2 separate regions of the Homo sapiens genome follow, and region 2 is linked to region 1. The links are contacts of gene promoters, found by promoter capture Hi-C in blood cells and fetal thymus (Javierre and others, 2016). All regions are on one chromosome and are shown on one strand. Each heading gives the region's core, a stretch centred on a gene start or on the middle of the fragment in contact. The rest is flanking DNA. Distances are from core to core; before and after follow the strand shown. Region 1 holds the start of APOC4 (apolipoprotein C4). Region 2 holds the start of CEACAM16 (CEA cell adhesion molecule 16, tectorial membrane component).

What was found. The method cuts DNA at HindIII sites, captures the fragments that hold promoters and counts their contacts. A CHiCAGO score of 5 or more calls a contact.
Region 2: the fragment with the promoter of CEACAM16 here is called in contact with the fragment with the promoter of APOC4 in region 1 in 1 of 17 cell types (naive B cells); the score reaches 5.3 in naive B cells.

The regions. Positions count from the first base shown.
Region 1 is chr19:44,938,628-44,945,364 of GRCh38, reverse strand. It overlaps APOC4 (apolipoprotein C4), which reads right to left and starts at 3,128. Exons shown (of 3, transcript NM_001646.3): 1 at 3,012-3,128; 2 at 475-616; 3 at 1-225. The coding sequence starts at 3,087. The coding sequence ends at 60. APOC4-APOC2 (APOC4-APOC2 readthrough (NMD candidate)) reads right to left here and starts at 3,127. Exons shown (of 6, transcript NR_037932.1): 1 at 3,012-3,127; 2 at 475-616; 3 at 1-225. The HindIII fragment of the contact is 22,942 bases long and covers 1-6,737 here.
Region 2 is chr19:44,695,841-44,702,577 of GRCh38, reverse strand. It overlaps CEACAM16 (CEA cell adhesion molecule 16, tectorial membrane component), which reads right to left and starts at 3,427. Exons shown (of 7, transcript NM_001039213.4): 1 at 3,318-3,427; 2 at 1,085-1,217. The coding sequence starts at 1,121. CEACAM16-AS1 (CEACAM16, CEACAM19 and PVR antisense RNA 1) reads left to right here. Exons shown (of 2, transcript NR_186815.1): 2 at 3,401-3,540. RefSeq lists an enhancer at 5,255-5,860. The HindIII fragment of the contact is 17,086 bases long and covers 1-6,737 here.

The DNA.
Region 1 (6,737 bases), core at 1,879-4,378:
TCCTGAGTAGCTGGGACTACAGGCACCCGCCACAACCACACCTGGCTTTTATGAACATTTTAACCCTGGTCCTTGTCCCCACAGACAAGCCTGGGGCACAGGCTGTGGGTCTTCTTCAAGAGGCTGTCTTTGGATTCGAGGAACCAGGCCTTGGTGAGCGGACCCAGGTCCCTCAGGTGGTCGTCATAGTAGGTCTGCATGAAGCCCCGGAAGGTGCTCGGGCTCCTACAGGAGAGAGGACATCACAGTGGAGGCCCCAGCTCTCCCCAGGTGTTCTCTGCCCCATTTATCCGCTCCTCTCTGTGACCTAGGAGTTCCTGCTCTCAGCTCTAACCCTCCACTCCTCCCAGACCTAGGGGTCACAGCCCCACTCCCACCCTTTCCTCCTCCCTGAGACTCAGGGGTCCAGGCCCCAGCCCCTCCTCCCTCAGACCCAGGAGTCCCCTCCCACCACCCAGCCCAGCACACCCTCACCAGAACCATTGCCACCCGTCTCTGGTCCTGTTCACCACTGTCTCCAGCAGCTCCTTCATCCTGCCCCTCACCAGGCTCCAGCGACTCATCTTTAGCTTTGGTGGGGGGCTCAGGGTTCCTTCCTGGGCCTCTGGCTGGCATGCTAGGTGGAACCAGAGGGCAACTTGGGTAGGCTGGGACCCTAGAATCCCCTTCTCCCTTTCCCTCCATGCTCATCCTGTGTCGCTCCCGGTGGCCCAGGGGCAGCCCCCTGCCAGTCCTCTTGCCTCCTGCCTTTACCCTTATGTGTCCCCTGACCGCTAACCCCTCTTTAACCATCAGCCATCTCTTTTTTTTTTTCTTTTTTCTTTTTTTTTATGAGACAGAGTCAGTCTCTTGCTCTGTTGCCCAGGGTGGAGTGCAGTGTCATGATCTCGTCTCATTGCAACCTCCACCTCCTGGATTCAGGCAATTTTCCTGCCTCAGCCTCCCGAGTAGCAGGGATTACAGGCATCTGCCATCATGCCCGGCTAATTTTTGTATTTTTAGAAGAGATGGGGTTTTGCCATGTTGGGGCCTCGAACTCCTGACCTCAAGTGATCCACCCACCTCGGGCTCCCAAAATGCTGGGATTACAGATGTGAGCCACCCCGTCCGGCTGGGCCATCTCTTCACCTTGTGTCAGTAGTCCCTCCTGTCACCCTGTCTGCCTGTGGTTCCCCTCTAATGGCCTCTCTAATTGCCATCCTCTGATGCCTCCCTTCACCACCTGATTTTGCTGCCCAGGAACTACCCCCTTCTCCCTTCGTTCTCCTGTGACCCCCACCCTGTCTGAGCTACCTCTGTGGACAGTGGAGGGAGAGCAGGAGGTGACTTTCTGCCCCCAGGGGCAGACATTGGCTTAGCCTTGCTGTCAGTTCCTCTTTCCGGGCCAGACCTTCTACCCACGCATCTGGACAAAGCCTCGCCTACAGAGACCAGCCGTCACGCGGGGGCCACATGTAGCTAGCTGTGTGCCTTGGCCGGTGACTTATCCTGTCTCCCCAGGACTGTTTCTCCTTTTGTAGAACGGGGTAATAATATCTACCTCAGGGTTATCGTGAGAATTAAGAGTTACTACATACGATGCACATGGAATGGTGCCTTGCACATTGTCTACATACGTGTTAAATTTTTTTTTTTTTTCAGACGGAGTCTCGCTCTGTCACCCAGGTTGGAATGCAGTGGCGCGATCTCGGCTCACTGCAACCTCTGCCTCCCGGGTTCAAGTGATTCTCCGGCCTCAGCCTCCCGAGTAGCTGGGACTACAGGCGCATGCCACCATGCATGGCTAATTTTTTGTATTTTTAGTAGAGATGGGTTTTTACCCATCTGTTAGCCAGGATGATCTCAAATCTCCTGACCTTGCGATCCACCCGCCTCGGCCTCCGAAAGTGCTGGGATTACAGGCATGAGCCACCGTGCCTGGCCCTGTATTAAAAATTTAAATTTCTACTGGATAATGCTGATCTAGAATATGATCCCATTTTAACATAAAGTACATGGCCGGGCGTGGTGGCTCATGCCTGTAATCCCAGCACTTTGGGAGGCCAAGGCGGGCGGATCACCTGAGGTCAGGATTTCAAGACCAGCCTGGGCAACATGGCAAAACCCTGTCTCTACCAAAAATATAAAAAAATTAGCCAGGCATTGGCCAGGCGCAGTGGCTCACGCCTATAATCCTAGCACTTTGGAAGGCCGAGGCAGGCGGATCACGAGGTCAGGATATGGAGACCATCCTGGCTAACACGGCGAAACCCCGTCTCTAGTAAAAATACAAAAAATTAGCCAGGCGTGGTGGTGGGCTCCTGTAGTCCCAGCTACTCGGGAGGCTGAGGCAGGAGAATGGCGTGAACCCGGGAGGCGGACGTTGCAGTGAGCCAAGATCACGCCACTGCACTCCAGCCTGGGTAACAGAGCGAGACTCCGTCTCAAAAAAAAAAAATTAGCCAGGCATGGTGGCGTGTGTCTGTAGTCCCAAATACTCTGAAGACTGAGGCAGGAGAATCCCTTGAAACGGGTAGGCGGATGATGCAGTGAGCCAAGATCGCACCACTGCTACCACTGCACTCCAGCCTGGGTGACAGAGTGAGACTCCGTCTCAAAAAAAAAAAAAAAAATGCATATGCAAAACACAGACGTACACACCAGCACACACTCACCCCCTCACACATGTCCACACACTCAAATATTTTGCACACACATACCCCACAGAGAGACAGGTGCACACAAATACACATATGCACACAGACATGCACTTTTTTACCACGACTGCATACTCCCACTTCCACGCACGCACGTGCACACACACAGATGATCCCAGTTTGTACCAATGTGACATTCACACTTCACTCTCAGCCACCGACACACACACTCCCCGACACGCACATGCATACGCACGCCATGAAACGCACACACTCCGTACTCATGTCTCACGTGGCTACAGAGCCACAGGACACACAGCCACACTCACACCCACCAGGTGTGGGCCCCACATCCCTCCACCCACTTCTTCTCACCCCCAATGCAGGCCAGGACCAGCACGCAGAGGCACAGGGCAGGCAGGGCCTGGAGCCTGTTTCTGAGGAGGGACATTTCTGGGGGTTCCGTGCCTCTGTCCCTCTGTGCTCAACTCTGCGGGCCGGGGGAGGGGAGGCTGCACAGAGCAGGGCCCTCCCCCGGCCACCTCCCCGCTTGGCAGAGACTTCAGAGAGCAGGGCCCAGGTGACAGTGGCAATCAGAGGTCATGCCTCTGTGGGCCTCCCTCCTTCTCACCCTCCCACACAGTGCCCTGAGAGAAGACAGAGGCTCTTGAGCCTCCTGCACTGAGGCAGGTTCAAATCCTGTCTCCACCTCCCATGACAGCCTCATTTGCTGGCCTCAGTTTCCTCCTCCATAAAGTGGGAGGCACAGTACATATTTCAGTATATTACTTGAACAAATACAAAGAAAGGCGCAGTGGCTCACGCCTGTAATCCCAGCACTTTGGGAGGCCGAGGTGGGCAGATCATATGAGGCCAGGAGTTTGAGACCAACCTGGCCAACATGGTGAAAAACCCTGTCCCTACTAAAAATACAAAAATTAGCCAGAAGTAGTGATGCGTGCCTGTAATCCCAGCTACTTGGGAGGCTGAGGCAGGAGAATGGCTTGAACCCGGGAAGTGAAGGCTGCAGTGAGCCGCGATCACACCACTGCACTCCAGCCTGGGTGACAGAGCAAGACTCTGTCTTGAAACAAAACAAAACAAAAAATGAAGAAAGCTCTTACCGTGGAGACTGGCAATATAGGTGCTCAAAGATCATTGCTGTTGGCCAGGCGCGGTGGCTCATGCCTGTAACCCCAACACTTTGGGAGGCCGAGGCAGGCGGATCACGAGGTCAGGAGATTGAGACCATCTTGGCTAACACGGTGAAACCCCATCTCTACTAAAAATATGAAAAATTAGCCAGGCGTGGTGGCAGGCGCCTGTAGTCCTAGCTACTCGGGAGGCTGAGGCAGGAGAATGGCGTGAACCTGGGAGGTGGAGCTTGCATTGAGCCGAGATCGCGCCACTGCAGTCCAGCCTGGGCGAAAGAGCAAGACTCCGTCTCAGAAAAAAAAAAAAGATCATTGCTGTTATTATTATCTTGTGTCTAATTTCTCCTAGTCACTGGGCTGCAGGGCCAGGCTTGTGGTAGGGCCTCAATAGGGCCCAAGGGTTGATGAGAGGAAATAGCAACACAGTCTCATGTCTCCAGCCTCTGTTTCTTCCTAGGTGGGCTCGAGCCCGATCACTTCCAAGCATTCCTTGAGTTCTCAATTCCAACTCTTTCTCCTCTGGGTGACTCTGGCTTCAGATGGACCTGGGCTTCGAATCCCTCACTTCTTCACCGTGTGACCTGGGCAAATACGTTTTCTTTTCTGGGGCTCAGTTTGTTCAACTGTAACACGGGGTTGATAGGGAGCACCTGCCTCCCAGTGTCCTCATGCAGGACGGCTGAGGCCTATGCAGGAGAGCTGCAGGTGCACATAGTAGGAGGTCATCAACATCAGGCCCAGGGCCAGGGCGGTGGCTCCCACCTGTAATCCCAGCACTTTGGGAGGCCGAGGCAGGCGGCTCACTTGAGGTCAGGAGTTCAAGACCAGCCTGGCCAACGTAGTGAAACCCCGTCTCTACTAAAAATACAAAAATTAGCCGGGTGTGGTGGAGCGAGACCTTGTCTCAAAAACAATAACAACAACAAAAACCAACAAAAAACCCACATCAGGCTCGGTCCCAGTGCCAGAAATAGAGCATTTTTCTCCTGAAGGACCCAGCTGCACCCCAGGGCACATGGCTCAGGGGACTATGGACTGGATTCTTTTTTTTTTTTTTGAGACAGAGTCTGGCTCTGTCGCCCAGGCTGGAGTGCTGTGGCGCGATCTCGGCTCACTGCAAGCTCCGCCTCCCAGGTTCACGCCATTCTCCTGCCTCAGCCTCCCGAGTAGCTGGGACTACAGGCACCCGCCACCACGCCCAGCTAATTTTTTGTATTTTTAGTAGAGACGGGGTTTCACCGTGTTAGCCAGGATGGTCTCGATCTCCTGACCTCGTGATCCGCCCGCCTCGGCCTCCCAAAGTGCTGGGATTACAGGCTTGAGCCACTGCGCCTGGCCTGGACTGGATTCTTTTGTCTACGCTTGCCAGACGAAATAGAGGAGGCCCAATTACATTTGAATTTCAAATCAACAGTGCATGACGTTTTAGTATAAATATGTCCCATGAAATATTTCAGAATTATACCAAAAAGTTTTTTTTGCTATTAATCTGAAATTCAAATGTAACTGAGCATCCTGTATTTTTACATGGCAAATCTGCAAACGCAACCTTGGCCACAACCTGAACAACTGTGCAGGACTGTCTTGACCCAGATGTCTGCCTTGGCAGAATCCTGTCCATCCCAGAGGCCCCAGCGTGAGCACAGTAGGTGCGCAACAGATGTCCCCTGGAATTCCTCTGTAGCAATCATCAGCAGATTGAAAACACCCAGAGTTTCTGTTTGGGATGACGAAGACATCCTGCAAATAGTGGGGATGGTTGCACAACAGTGTGAATGTACTTAATGCCACTGAACTGTACACCTAAAAATGGCTGCAATGGTTAAGTTTTTTTTTTTTTTTTTTTTTTTTTGAGGCAGAGTCTCACTCCGTCACCCAGGATAGAGTGCAATGGTGTGATCTTGGCTCACTGCAACCTCTGCCTCCCGGGTTCCAGCGATTCTCCTGCTTCAGCCTCCCGCGTAGCTGGGATTACAGGTGTGCGGCAACCACACCCGGCTAATTTTTTGTATGTATGTATGTATTTGAGACATAGTTTCGCTCTTGTTGCCCAGGCTGGAGTGCAATGGTGCGATCTTGACTCACTGCAACCTCCGCCTCCCGGGTTCAAGCGATTCTCCGGCCTCAGCCTCCTTAGTAGCTGGAATTATAAGCGCCTGCCACCATGCCCAGCTAATTTTTTGTATTTTTAGTAGAGACGGGGTTTCACAATGTTGGCCAGGTTGGTCTTGAACTCCTGACCTCAGGTGATCCACCTGCCTTGGCCTCTCAAAGTGCTGGGATTACAGGCGTGAGCCACCATGGCTGGCTCATTTTTTTGTATTTTTAAAGAGACAGGTTTTCACCATGTTGGCCAGGGTGGTCTCAAACTCCTGACCTCTCAGGTGATCCATCCACCTCAGCCTCCCAAAGTGCTGGGATTGCAGGCATGAGCCACTGCGCCTGGCTGCCCAGCTAATATTTTTATTTTTTGTAGAAACACAGTTTTGCCAAGTTGCCCAGACTGGTCTTGAACTCCTGGGTTCAAGTAATCCTCCCACCTCAACCTCCCAGAGTGTTGAGATTACAGGCGTGAGCCACCACACCCGGCCATGTTGTTTATATTTTACCACAATTATAAAAAAACAAAAACAGCCAGGTACTGTGGCAGGGGCTTGTAGCCCCAGCTACTCAGAAAGCTGTGGTAGAAGGATTCCTTGAGCCCAGGAGTTTGAGAGTCCAGCCTGGGCAACATAGTAAGACCCCGTCTCTTAAAAAAAAAAAAAAAAAGCTGGGCACGGTGGCTCACGCCTGTAATCCCATCACTTTGGGAGGCCAAGGCGGGCGGATCACGAGGTCAGGAGTTCGAGACCAGCCTGACCAACATGGTGAAACCCCCGTCTCTACTAAAAATACCAAAAAAAAAAAAAAAGTTAGCTGGGCATCGTGGTGGGCACCTGTAATCTCA
Region 2 (6,737 bases), core at 2,178-4,677, 240 kb after region 1:
GCTGCTTGGGTTTGAATGACGTGTGGTTTGAATGCCCGGAACGGGCGGCTGTGACAGTGCTCACGTCAAAAGGACTGACATGGCTGGCCAGCTTTCTGGTACTTTCCAGGCTGTTAGAGTGTGGCTAGGAGTGAGGGTCTCTGGGTCTAGCCCTCAGTCCTGCCACTCTCTGGCCGTGTGACAGCGGCCAATGGTTTCACCTTTCTGAGCCTCGTTTTCTCCCTATGAAGTGCGGTTCATGTGTGGGCCTCCCTCATAGGTGGTTTGGGGTTGTTTTTTTTTTTTGAGATGGAGTCTTGCTTTGTTGCCCAGGCTGGAGTGCAGTGGTGCAGTCTCGGCACACTGTGACCTCCACCTCCTGGATTCAAGTGATTCTCCTGCCTCAGCCTCCCGAGCAGCTGGGACTACAGGCATGTGCCACCACACCTAGCTAATTTTTTGTATTTTAGTAGAGATGGGGTTTTACTATGTTAACCAGGCTGGTCTTGAACTCCTGACCTCAGGTGATCCGCCCGCCTCGGCCTCCCAAAGTGCTGGGATTAGTGGTGTGAGCCACCTTGCCCGGCCCCTCATAGGTGGTTTTAAACCATGAGAAGCTCTCAGAACAGCTCCGGGCACACGGCATATGTGGTGCTGCTTATAATGACCTTTACATGACCCTGTCAGTGAGGCCCCATTCACAGGTGGGTACACAGAGGCTGAGAAGGGAAAGGCAACTGCCCTAAGCTACATCTTCCGGGAGAAACAGCTGCTGGGAAGAGTTTAGCCTCATCAAGGCTTCCATAGCTGATAAAACAGAAACCTGCAGGAATGAAGGAGCAACAGCGGCTCCCTTGTCCTGGCTTGTGCCCTGGGCTTAGAAATCTCCAAAGCCCACCCTGAAAACCTCTCTGGGTGGCTGTCCCCAGCCTGCCCAATGCAGATGCCTCTTGGAGGGGTAAACTGCCGGTGTGAAGCAGGGCTGCCCTCCCTCCCTAGCACGCTGGACTTCTGCTCACACCTTCCCTCTCTCAGACTGGGGGTCCCCTCCCCTCCCTGGGGTCCTCGGGGGGCTGAGGTGCTGGGGGGTGCCATTCTCGCTCACCACTGAGGAGCAGCCAGCTGTACCCAGTCAGCGCCATCTTTCACCCCAAACCGAGTCTTGGAGATGGTGGCGTTGAAGTCCCAGTGCTCGGACTCCCTTCCTGGTTGGGGCTCGGCTCCGTCTGCCGCAGGACCTGGGAGGGTTTGGTGATTTGGAGCCAGGGGAGATCACCTGAATTTGGAGGGATCGAGTCACCAAGGATCTGGGGCCCGGTTTGGGTACCAGGGTGGGTGTGGCGGGCACCGGCCAGAGGCCGTGACCTGGGCAGGCCTCCTGGGGCAGCCGCCTAACCCTCTTTGTGCCGAGGGCCTGGATTTGGTACTGGGAGAGGAACCAGGTCACCGAGGAGAAGAGAGGAAAAGTAGGGGAAGGTTTTCGGGTAGTTCTTACCAACCACCCAGGCCCGTGGCCTCCTCAGAGAGCCTGGGAGTCACCAAGGAAGAAAATCAGTAAAAGGTGACTGCACCTTTCCCAGCCCCACCCAGTGCAGGGGACCTACAGGTGTTGTCTCAGCGGATGGCAAAACAACCCTGTAAAGTGGGCACCTTTAGGACCCCCCTTTGCAGATGGAGATGAGCTAGGTGGGGACTCCCACTTGTCCGGGTTCCTGCAGGGAGAGGGGATTTGAGCCCTGCTCTGTGTGCAAACCCAGACAGAAGGGCAGGAAACTGTATGGCCACATGCTTTCTTTGGGGCTCTCCTTCTTGTTGGCTTCCTGCAAAGTGCTCAGAAGTTCACATTCTCTTTCTCCCACTTCGGAGGCCTTGTTTTCCCCTCTCTGTCAAATGGGCGTATTCGGAGGCTTTGGGGCCAAGGAGAGCTGAGTTTTGACACCAGCTCTGCACTTACCCAAAGTGGGGCTGGGGACAGTCCCTTGTTGAGTCTCCATTTATTATTCTGATAAATAGAGATGATGGCCGGGTGCACTGGCTCATGCCTGTCATCCCAGCACTTCGGGAGGCCAAGGCAGGCGGATCATTTGAGGTCAGGAGTTCGAGATCAGCCTGGCCAACATGGCGAAACCCCATCTCTACTAAAAATAATAATAATAAAAATAGCCAGGCGTGGTGGCAGGTGCCTGTAGTCCCAGCACTTTGGGAGGCTGAGATGGGCAGATCACCTGAGGTGAGGAGTTTGCAACCAGCCTGACCAACATGGCGAAACCCCGTCTCTATTAAAAATATAAGTTAGCTGGGTGTGGTGGCTAACGCCTGTAATCCCAACACTTTGGGAGGCCAAGGCAGGTGGCTCACGAGGTCAGGAGTTCGAGACCAGCCTGGCCAATATGGTGAAACCTCGTATGTACTAAAAATATAAAAAATTAGCTGGGTGTGGTGGTGTGCACCTGTAGTCCCAGCTACTCGAGAGGCTGAGGCAGGAGAATCTCTTGAACCCAGGAGGTGGAGGTTGCAGCGAGCTGAGATCACACCACTGCACTCCAGCCTGGGTGACAGAGTGAGACTCTATCTCAAAAAACAAAAGCAAAAACAAAAAATAAAAGTTAGCCGGTCATGGTGGCACATGCCTGTAATCCCAGCTACTAGGGAGGCTGAGGTAGGAGAATCGCTTGAATCCAGGAGGTAGAGGTTGCAGTGAGCCGAGATCCTGCCACTGCACTCCAGCCTGGGTGACAGAGCAAGACTCCATTTCAAAAACAAACAAAAAAATAGAGATGATATGGACCCTACTTCAGGTTTGTTGACAGCAGTTAGTGAGAGGCTACAAGTCAGGGATTTAAGCCAGAGCCTGGTGGACGTGGGTCTGATTGGTATGCCTGTTATTAAAAGTATAGGCTCTGGCCGGGCGTGGTGGCTCATGGCCGGACGCAGTGGCTCATGCCTGTAGTCCTAGCACTTTGGGAGGCCGAGGTGGGTGGATCAACTGAGGTCAGGAGTTCAAGACCAGCCTGGCCAGCATGGTGAAACCCTGTCTCTACTAAAAATACAAAAATTAGCTGGGTGTGGTCGCGGGCACCTGTAATCCCAGCTACTTGGGAGGCTGAAGCAGGAGAATTGCTTGAACCCTGGGCAAAAGAGTGAAACTCCATCTCAAAAAAAAAAAAGTATAGGCTCTGGACATAGTTCCACTGTTTCCTACCTCCAGGACCCTGGGCAATTTATGGACTCTGCCAAGCCTCAGTTTCCTTATTTGTAAAATAGGGAAAACAATAGTACTCACATCACAGGGCTGTTGAAAGGATTAAGTAGATACACATGTGAAGTACAGTACTTACCACGACTGGCGCAGAGTAAATGCTCAGTAAATCACTCATTCACTTATTGGACAAATACTGAATGAGCACCTATTGTTTGCCAGGTGCTGTTCTAGGCGCTGAGGATGCAGCCGTGCACAAGACGGATGAAATCCCTGCCCTCAGGGGGCCGACATTTGCGGAGTAAATAAAGGAAAGGTAAATATCTTCCACGTCAGATTGAAAAATAAAGTCAGAAAGGGGATTTGCCATTTTATTTTTTGTAGAGATGGGATCTCGCTATGTTGCTCTGCCTGGTCTCAAACTCTTGGCCTCAAGTGATCTTCCCACCTTGGCCTCCCAAAGTGCTGGGATTACAGCCATGAGCCACTGCCCCTGGCCTGGTTTGCTACTTTAAATTGGGGTGGAGGGAGGGTAACAGGGAAGGTGTCTCTGAGATGATGCTGGGCAGGAGCCGAGGGGGTTGTGGTGCCAGAGCTGCTGATAGCTGTGTTCTTATGACCTGCATCCTGATGGCTTCTGAGTCCTGGTTCCTCTGAGGCCTCTGCAGCCTGCTTCCGGGCAGGGGGCCACACCTGTGCTCACCTGTCCTGGTTTGCCTCCAGCACTGTGTCCTGGGCTGCCCTCGTGGGGCAGGGCTCTAACAAGGGGGAGAAGGCCCTGAGGAGGTGCGGGTGAGGCCAGGTGAGAGGCACAGAGGATGTCCTGGCGCCTCCTGCTCCCCTCTCCCCACCTGTGACCTCACCTCACTCTTCTGCGTCCTGGCCCAGAGCACTGGGACCTCATCCCAGTATCAATCAGGATGCCTCCCTGATGTCCCTGGGCACCTCTCACTCACCTTGTCCCAAACTGACCTTGGCATCTTCCCCCAGAAGTGTATCTTCCCCTGGTGCCCTTATCAGGGAAGGCGCCACTACCCACCTCATCGCTGGGAAAAGAGACCTGGGGCCTCATCCCTGATGCCTCCCCCTACTCCCCGAACACGCCACCCCTTCTGGCAACTGACTCTACGTATATCTTCTCTCCCTCCCTGAAGCCCCTGCCCTGGTCTAGGTGACCACTCCACCACCCCACCTTGCCTGGGTCCTCCTGTCTCCCCACCAGCCTCCTCCCTAGTCTCTGGCCCTGGTCTCCCCGACTCCCATTGCCCCTCCACATGGCAGACAGAGGCTCTTTCCAAAACAAAAACCTGCCTCTGCCCCTCCGTGCTCAGAACCTGCTGTGGCTCCCCAGTGCCCTTGGGAGGAAGCCCAGGTTCCTCACTGTAGCCCAGGAGGCCCTGCCCGGCCTGACTCCTGCCCACCTGACCAGCTACATAGAATACCACTTGCTTCCGGGAACCCTCTGCTTCAGTTCTTCTGTTTCACTTGCACTCTACCCAGAATATCCCTGCTTCCCTCTGCTCTATTCCACTGCCTTCCCCAAACCCTCTCCTCCAGGAAGCCCTCCTGGACTTCAGGGCCTGGAATTCCCTGTCTCAGCCCTGACTGCCTTGGGTTCTCGCTGTCTGGGGCTGGGTCTTTTTCCCCCACTGGCCTGGGAGCCTCAGCTGGGCACGGCTGGGCTGTCACCACTGTGTCCCCAGCACTGCCCAGCAAATCACCTGGCACAGAGCAGAGGCTCACAGCATGTTTGTGGAACTGGACACCAGGTGTGGATGACACAGAGAGAGGAGTCTTCAGAGAGGCTCAGGTTCCTGGTGATCTGCTGTCTGCCTGCGGAGTGTGACCAGGCCGGGCTCTAGAGGCCCTCTATCGTCACATCCACCCTTCCTAGTCTGCCCCCATCCTCCACCTCCCTGGCCCCTCCTCTGGTGCTCCCGGCTGTGAGCCCAGATCCTTGGTTCAGTCAAGAGCTGCAGGCTCTTTAGCACCTGCTGTGCGCCGCCGGGCTGCGCAGAAAGCAGACGGGGTTCTTGTGGGCAGGGGCTTTTTCCTGTTTGTGCAGTGGGTGGGGGGTGTTCATGACATTGACTTCCCTGGGACTCTTCTGAGGATCAAAATAGGCACATGGAGTGTTCCGTGCCGGGCCTGCCTCAGAGCACGTACTGGGGGCACAGTGGTCGTTGTTCCTCCACCATTTGACAAATGTTTATGGAGCACCAACTATGTGCCGGGCACTGCGCTAGGCGCTGTGGGGTTACAGCCGTGAATACGGTAGACACAGAGCTGACCTATTGATTGGGGAGACAGTTAATAGACGAATACAAACATGAGCAGTGTTAGAACAGGTGGGGACAATGCTGTGGAGAAAAATAAAGCAGGGGAAGGGATGGAGGTGGTCGGGGCACTGGTTTATGCAGGGCAGCAAGGCGACATTGTCAGAGCGACATTGGAGTAGAGGTTCAATAAGGGGGGCCGGGCGCGGTGGCTCACACCTGTAATCCCAGCATTTTGGGAGGCTGAGGCGGGAGGATGGCTTGAGCCCAGGAGTTCGAGACCAGCCTGGGCAGCGTAGAGCACGTCTCTACAAAAAAATTTAAAAATGAGCCAGGAGTGGTGTTGCACGCCTGTAGTCCCAGCTATTTGGCAGGCTGAGGTAGGAGGATCGCCTGAGCCCAGGAGGTTGAGTCTGCAGTGAGCTGTGATCTCACCACTGCACTCCAGCCTGGGCGACAGAGCAAGACCTTGTTGTCTCATTAAGAAAAAAAAAAAAAAAAAAGAGCGCATGCATACACAATAATGTAAAACAGATAATCAGTTTTTTATATTGATTCTGTGCTGAAATGACATTTTGCATATGTTGTGTTAAATACATTCGTTTCACCTTTCTTCATGAGATGAGGCTGGAAAAGGTTGAATTGTGTTTGCGGCTCCACTCTTGCTCCTGTTGGGTAGTGCTGGACCAGGCAGGAGGTAGTGGCGGCTGAACCAGGGATGGGAGAAGTGGTCAGCTTGTAGATGTATTCTGCTGATATCATTCTTCTTCTTCTTCTTCTTCTTCTTCTTTTTTAAATGGAGTCTTGATCTGTCATCCAGGCTGGAGTGCAGTGGTGCGATCTTGGCTCACTGCAACCTCCACCTCCCAAGTTCAAGCGATTCTCTCACCTCAGCCTCCCGAGTAGCTGGGATTACAAGCATGCGCCACCATGCCTGGCTAATTTTAATATTTTTAGTACAGACAGGGTTTTGACATGTTGGCCAGGCTGGTCTCAAACTCCTAACCTCAAGTGATCCACCTGCCTTGGCCTCTCAAAGTGCTGGGATTACAGGTGTGAGCCACCGTGCCTGGCCCATTATTCTTTTTGACAGCTTCAGCTTTTCCTGTTATCCATCTCCCCGCTGCCCACCCCCAAGAAAACCCATTTTGCAGACAAGTAAACTGAGGCCCCGGGCCATTGCCTCATAAGATTGGAGCAGATGAGTCTTATCTTCTCTGCACAGCCATCTGGGGACACGGGTCTATGACCTTGTTTGGTCAGGGTCACCCCTTGCCCGCCCA